2 separate regions of the Homo sapiens genome follow, and region 2 is linked to region 1. Evidence: promoter capture Hi-C in 16 types of primary human blood cells and fetal thymus (Javierre and others, 2016). All regions are on one chromosome and are shown on one strand. The core of a region is centred on a gene start or on the middle of the fragment in contact, and the rest is flanking DNA. Distances in the headings are between cores, read along the strand shown. Region 1 holds the start of PTPRT-AS1 (PTPRT antisense RNA 1). Region 2 overlaps LOC101927182 (a long non-coding RNA gene).

What was found. The method cuts DNA at HindIII sites, captures the fragments that hold promoters and counts their contacts. A CHiCAGO score of 5 or more calls a contact.
Region 2: a contact is called between a fragment that was not itself captured here and the fragment with the promoter of PTPRT-AS1 in region 1, in 1 of 17 cell types (M2 macrophages). The highest score is 6.1, in M2 macrophages.

Annotation. Positions count from the first base shown.
Region 1 is chr20:42,967,024-42,970,681 of GRCh38, forward strand. PTPRT-AS1 (PTPRT antisense RNA 1) reads left to right here and starts at 1,720. Exons shown (of 2, transcript NR_149017.1): 1 at 1,720-2,638. The region is part of intron 1 of PTPRT (protein tyrosine phosphatase receptor type T); the gene reads right to left. The HindIII fragment of the contact is 3,440 bases long and covers 1-2,612 here.
Region 2 is chr20:41,947,507-41,951,164 of GRCh38, forward strand. The region is part of intron 1 of LOC101927182 (a long non-coding RNA gene); the gene reads left to right. Among named protein-coding and RNA genes, the nearest start is that of CHD6, 330 kb to the left of the region's middle. The HindIII fragment of the contact is 679 bases long and covers 1,372-2,050 here.

The sequences.
Region 1 (3,658 bases), core at 470-2,969:
ACTTTGGAAAGGCACCTCGGGAGGTGATATGACTCTTTAGCAGACGATGAGTTTATTCAAGTTTGCTGTGACATTTGTGCAAGAGCCCAGCCCTTCCTCTTGTAGCTACTTAAAGACACCCTGAGAACAGGAACTGCTCCATCCCTTTGGTAGCTGCAGTGGGTTGAGTGGTGGCCCCCAGAAGATAAGTCCATCTCCTAATCTCTTGAACGTGTGAATCTGACCTTATTTGGAAAACGGGTCTTAGCAGATGTAATTAATTTAAGGTATTTAATTTAATTATTTAAGGTATTGAGATGAGATCATCCTGGTTTACCAAGGTGGGCCCTAAATCCAGTAACGAGTGTCCTTATAAAAAACAGAAGAGGAAAAGACACAGACACGTGGAAAAGAAGGCCAGACCAGGTGGAGATCAAGGCAGAGAGGGCAATGATGCGGCCACAAAGAACGCTGACAGCCACCAGAAGTTGGAAGAGACAAGGAACTGATTGTCCCCTAGAGCCTCCAAGGAAGTGCAGCCCTGCTGACACCTTGATTTCAGACTGTGGACCCCAGAACTGTGAGAGAACAAATTTGTGTTGTTTTAAGCCACCAAATGGATGGTAATTTGTTACTACAGCCCTACGAACCGAAAACAGTGACCAACCCCATTCACCAGCCCCCTAATACCTTTGTGGCATTTGTATTCCCCCACCCCCACATGCTGCCTCCTTCCCTCCTAGGCTGTTATTCAAACCATCGCAGCAGCCTCCTCATTGCCCTCGCTGCCTTCAGCCTCGCCCTCTCCAAGCCCACCCCCGCTACCAGATGTCAGGAAGAAATTCCAAAACTCAAACCAAAGGCTGATACGTTCTTGCCCTACACTTCACTCAATGCTGGCAACCCAATGAGGGACATCAGGATAAAATCGAGAATGCGCGGTCTGTGCTTGTGAATTCCTACCACCTGGCCCCAGCTAGCCTCCCATCCCTTATATCTGCCAAGACAAATTCCCCCAAATCCCCTCTCCCCTGGCCAGAAGTGACCTCCACATTCAGCCCCGATTATGGAAGGCTGTCACAGGCTATTCCTTTTGCTGGGTAAGCCCTTCCCCCTTTCAAGTCTATGTTCAACTGTCATATCCTTTTTGAGGACTTCCTTTAGCTCTTCCCTCCACCTCTACTGCCACACTTAACAGAGCGGAGTTGTCTCCTCTGGCATCCCATTGTCGATAGCCCACTCCTGAGTTACAGCAACAACGGCCACCTGACTCCACTCATCTGTTGACCTGTCCATTTCTCCATTAGCCTATGATCTCCTTTAGGGCAAGATTCATCCTTATCTGATTCATCTTTGTATCCCAGATCTTAGCCAGGCAAACAACAGGGATCCAGTGGAGAGAGAGATGGATAGGTGGGTAGGTGAAGACACAGATGTACGGTTGAACACACAAACTGGCAAAGTTCCAAATGAACTAATAAGTGGACACCTCACTGAGAGACTTAAATGCAGAAGGGTGCCAGGACATAAGAGGAACGGCTGCGAGTTATGAAAATGGGCTCCATGGGGCAAATCAAAAGTCCACTGAAGGCAAATGCATCATAACAAGACTGGCATTTCCTGGAGTTTCCGGGCTGATCAATCACTTTCATATGCATCATTCATTTACTCCTCACAATGACCTGGTGAGGTAATGAGTTACTATTAGCTCAATGCACAAGGAAGCTGAGGCTTGTGGACATCAGCTGAAGTCTCACAGCCAGCGAATGGCAGGCCAGGGCACCAGGGCCTAGGTCTGCCTGCCTCTTCCATCCACCTTCTGTCATCACAAGCCTTCTGATCTCCAGCCCTCTGATCTGCCCCAGTGGGACCCTCCTGCGTCTCTGCTCTAGTTGTAGAGGACCCATCAGGCACTTAGAGAGAAATGAGTGGTGTTGTGAACATTCGACTGTGTCCATGTGGAATCCACACACACAGTTTGCCTGAAAATGACTGATAGGATGGAAACTGACAAGTCATCATCCGCTTCGGGCACCAGCGATGACTGGTTAACATGAATATTGTGTTGATTTCCGCTAGATAGAAGAAGATGTCACTTGTCGTTAATGGGGTGTCACACGTACACTTGCCTAAAGGAAAATGCTCTTTTGGTGATTGTTCTCAATTTTCACCTCATTTTATAGCCATAAAAAAGAAAAGATTCAGCAGAAAGGATGAATCCACCTAGGGGTAGGATGGAAAGGCATTCTTCTCATTTATTTCCTTCTTTCTTTACCAGAACAACCAAAACCCAGTGAAAATGCTGGTGCAAGTCAGAAGAGGGGGACCTGGGTTCTAAGAGCAGCCAGGTACTCTGGGCTTCAGATCAGAGCCTCAGAATCCAGCAGTTATGCCCACAAGGTAGCCAAAGTCCAGCCAGTACCACCGGTCTCTCGGCCAGCTATACTTGCCTCTGCTCAACAATGATGATTTGAACGTACATGTACAAATAATAACAGATAACATTACTGAGCACTTTACTATGAACTATGGAATGTGCTAGGTAAAGACGTTACTCCACGTAAGCCATAAAATCAACCTATGGGGCAGGTGCAGATCCACAAACCCTGATTTAAGAATTCTGAATCCTCAAAAGCTTTGAAAACCAAAACATTTTTTCGTAAGTTTGGTACAGACTTATTTGGTGCTAAGATTTGAGTTAAAGTGATATACATTGACTAATAGTTTTTTCTATCTCCTTCTTACTATTAATATTCATACTTTTTGCTACAAAAATATCAACATGCTTGATTTAAGGGTGCTACCACAGCCTCTGCTGAGGGATGTTATTAATAAATATGGTACATTTACTATATTGCTTTCCTTTAAAAGTTAAATAAATCTAAATCCGAGCACATTTGGCCCCAAGGACTGCAGACAAGAAATTGAGAACCTGTTAAACCCATTATATGGATGAGGAAACAGGCTCAGAAAAGGTAGGAAACTTTCCTGAGGTTACAGAGCTCAAAAGCAGCAGATGAAGGTTTACATCTAGGCAGCCTTGCTCCAGAGCTGGCCCGGTTAATCAGTGGGCTTTGCTACCTTTGACAAATGCCCCTGCTAGCTGGTCTCAGCCCCATCCTCCCAGCGCAGCAGTTCAGTCCCTGTTTGTTCTTGAGCAAGAAGTAAGCATGTGCCTTCTTAGTCGAGGTACAAGGCAATCCCCAGGGTATCCGGATCATAATTACAATGCTTTATTAATATAAATCTCAGGATATAGACCTGTGTTTCAAATCAAGAGTCAAACACAACAATAACATCAGTCTTAGGTAACTACCAGTCAAGGATTCGGATCCAGACTTGCGCTTTTACAATGAGAAGCAAACAAAGACGACTATTAATTGGCTGATGGTCAGCCAGTATCAAATTATCACATTTTCTCACACTACAGTGGTTATACAGACCCTGGAGCTAGACAGGTTGTGCTGAAATCCTGGGTCAGCCACTTAATAGTTATGCGACCTTGACAAGTTGCATAACCTCTCTGTGCCTCAGTTCCCTTATATAGAACATGGGGGTAATGCTAGCACCCCCCTCACCAGTCGTCATGAGGATTAAATGAGATTGTATTTAAAGCATTTGGAATATAGCAAGTCCAATCTTAGCCTCTGCTCCCAGACAGACAGATGATTAGGATGGA
Region 2 (3,658 bases), core at 461-2,960, 1.0 Mb before region 1:
CTGTAGAAAACAGTTTGGTGGCTCCTTGAAAAGTTAAACATAGGTTTATTATATGACCCCACAATTTCAGTCCCAGATGTGTACTCAAAAGAATTGAAAACAGGTATCATACAAGTACTTGTACACAAATGTTAATAGCAGGACTATTTGCAATACCAAGAGGTGGAAAGAGCCTTAATGTCCATCAAGAGATGAACAAATAAACAAATTGTAGCATATCCATACAATGGAATATTACTCAGCCATAATAGGAATAAAAAAATGATACATATTACAGTGTGGATGAACCTCCAAAACATTACTCTAAGGTCAAAGAAACCAGACACAAAGATCATGTATTGTATGATTCCATTTTTACGAAATACCCAGAATAGACAAGTCCATAGAGACACAAAGCAATTGGTGATTTCTAGGGACAGAAGGGGAATGTGGAAATGGAGAGTGACTGCTCAGTGGGTATGGGATTTGATTTTGGAGTGACAGAAATGTTTTGGAACTAGATAGAGGTGGTGGTTGCACAACATTGTAAATGTACTAAATGCCACTAAATTGTTCACTTTAAAATGGCTAATTTTATGTTATGTGAATTTTACCTCAATAAATTATTAAAACCAACCAACAAACCAACCAACAAACAAACAGAAAATGCAGTCTGTTAGATGCCATCAGTCATAAAAGGGAACCTCATTGACTGGAAATGTCTTACCCCTGTGCTCTCCACTGGAAGAGGAGTAGCAATATGACCCAACAAAGAACCAGAAAAATCGGCAGCCCAGCAGGGGTAACTTTGCGCCAGAAAACTAGTGCCCACATGCCATACCTCTAGCTTGCTGTTTTCTGCTATAAAGTTATTATGTGTTTACCTTTGGGAAAAAGTAATGCTCATGTGTCCTGTGTCTTTGCTCATGGTAAATGTCTCAAATCTTTATCAGTCTGAGAAGTGAATAAAGGCCATTTTTATTTGCATTTCTTTCATTACTGTGGAGGGTGAAGATCTTTTCATGAAGGGTGAAGATCAAACACACAATGCCATGTGCATTGTGTGTTTGAATTGCCTGTTGATTTTATTCTTATAGATTTAATTTTAGATACGGAGTTTACCTCCAGGAATCCCCTGTCTCTTCCCACTCCCACAGAGTGCCATGTGCCTGGGTTGTGGAAGCTTCTTTCAAAAAAGTTTTTGTGTTTACTGGGGCCCTCGGGACTTCACCAACCTGGGATGACCTCCTATAATAATTTATTAGTGTTGAAATCTCTCATCACACAAATATATAAGCCTCGACTCTACACTCTACACTGCATGGTATAGGCTTTGGGCTTCGACTTCTTAGGGAAACTTTCTGCTTTCAGCCACGTCCCTGTGCAGGTGCAAGCTTCTTTGCAGTTTCCAGAACAGTGGGCAGAGTTGTTCTAGCCCTTTCCATGGAGGGGATTTTTTTAGGGTCCTGATTTTACAGCGGTCTCAGTTCCATTACTTTGCTAACTGGGACCTAAGGCCACATGTCCTATCCCAAAGTTGGCATTAAAATCCCAGTCCCTAACCATTGGGGCCATGCACCCACCTCCTGGGGGGGAGATGTCATGGTTCAAACACTTTCCATTCTGGCTTTGAGTTTTCTTTTCATTTATTTTCACTCTAGAGATTTTCCTGTCTTTCGAGTGAACCTATATATTTTAAATATTAATTATTTTAATTCCCACACTCTTGTGGGTTTTCGGTGGTAGACAGGGACCTCTGTCACGGATCAGTCTACCAATGTTGCTAAAAGTCTAATTTACAAAAATTGTTTTTGTAGTGAGACTATTAACCCTTTATAATATATATTACCAATACTTTTTGCCAGGTTTTAATTTTTTTTTTGGCTTTATACATGGTGTTCATTGTCATGAAGAGGTTTTAAATTTTTATGTAGCTATGTTTCTCTACTTTTCCATGCATTGTCTCTGGTATTATGTTTAGAAGACATCTTCTTTCCTAAGAGTTAAAAAAAAAAGCATTTAGTCTTGTTTTCTTCTAGTGCTTTTATTTATTTATTTATTTTTAACATTAAGCTTTCTGATCTATTTGGAGTTGGTTTTGCTGTGCTGTGGAGGCAGGGACTCAGCATTAATCTCCCTCACTTTCTGGCTAGTTGTCATGACACTATTTATTGAGAAGCCCATTGTTTTCCTATTTTCATGTGTACTTAGGTTTGTTTCTGAACTCTAATCTTTCACTACATCAGCAATGGACTGTTTTAATTACAACACGTTGACATTCTAGTATATCCAATTTCTCCTCTTCCCTGCCTCTTTGTCTTGCCCCCACCCCCGCTTATTTTTTTAAAAGAAAAAATTTGGTCTATTCTTATGTATCTCCCCTCAATCAAATCCAAAATCATTTAAATCAAAATCCATGTCAATATCATTGAGGTTTCTTACTTTAACAAATGTATAGATTGATAGAGACAATCCCTCTTGTTTTCTGATAATTTATTGTTTGCTCATAGGAAATCTGTTGGGTTTGGCAAAAATGGGGATATGGACCCTAGTGAGGAGGCACAGACATTCTGAGCATGGCATTACTTTAAGACAAGCTTCAGTTGCAAAGAGTGACGTTGGATCCCTGCTTTCAAGCTTCCTTCAAACCCATCCTTTTACCCAGGCCTAGCCCCTGACTGGTCTCTTCCTGTGACTGAACCAATGATTTTACCACTGTCTACCAAATCAGCCAAACCAGGCATCTGGGTGGTGGGGGACAGCATTCATGCCTCTCTTTCCTGATTGTTCATGGATCCCTGTGGATTCAACCTCCTGAGCAGCTCTCCAGTTGTCCTTTCCTCTCCATGCCCACTGCCTCTGCTGTGATTCTGGTCTCAGCCTTCTTTGTATGGGATTTACCGCAGCCTCCTCACTGGACTTCCTGCCTGCAGCCCACCTTCCAGGAGGACACAGAATTATGCATGTTCTGAAGCATAAATATATGTTCTTTCCCAGCTTAAATCCTTTCCATGGCCCCTTCATGAAGCTGACAGTGTAGTAGGTGGAGACATTTATTTATCCTTTCAATGAATATTTATTAAGCAGTTACTTACGATAGGACCTAATCTAGGCCCTGGGGATATTGCTGTGTATAAAGATACAGGAATCTCTGCCCAAGGCCGGATGTTGGGTGGGAGAAGACAGAAAATAAACAAGAGAAATAATATTTAAAGTAGCTTGGTTGGGAATAGATACCAAGAAGAAAATATGTCAGGGAAAGGGGCTAAGGAATTCCAGAGGTAGAGAGGGTAGGGGCTTTTTAAATGGGGTAGCCAGAAAAGGTCTACCTCAGAGGTAATGTTGGAATATAACTGAAAGGTAAGGGGAAAGTCACGGATAGCGGTGTTCTTGTTCAGGGCCTTGTGGACCACTGTGAAGGCCAGCTTTACTGGAGTGACCGGGGAAGCCAGCAGAGAGTCTGAGCCAAAGGAGGACCTAATTTGACTTCATGATCTCGCTTAGGTTTTAACAGGAACACTATGATGGAGCATAGAATATAGATGAGTATACAAGTGACTGAATACTTGCAAATGTGACAAGAGCTAGGAAGGAGAGTTCAGGGTGCTTTGGGAGTGCAGAACAGGAGACCCTGATTCAGTCTGGAATGGGTAGGTGGGAGCTCAAGTACAGCTCAGGC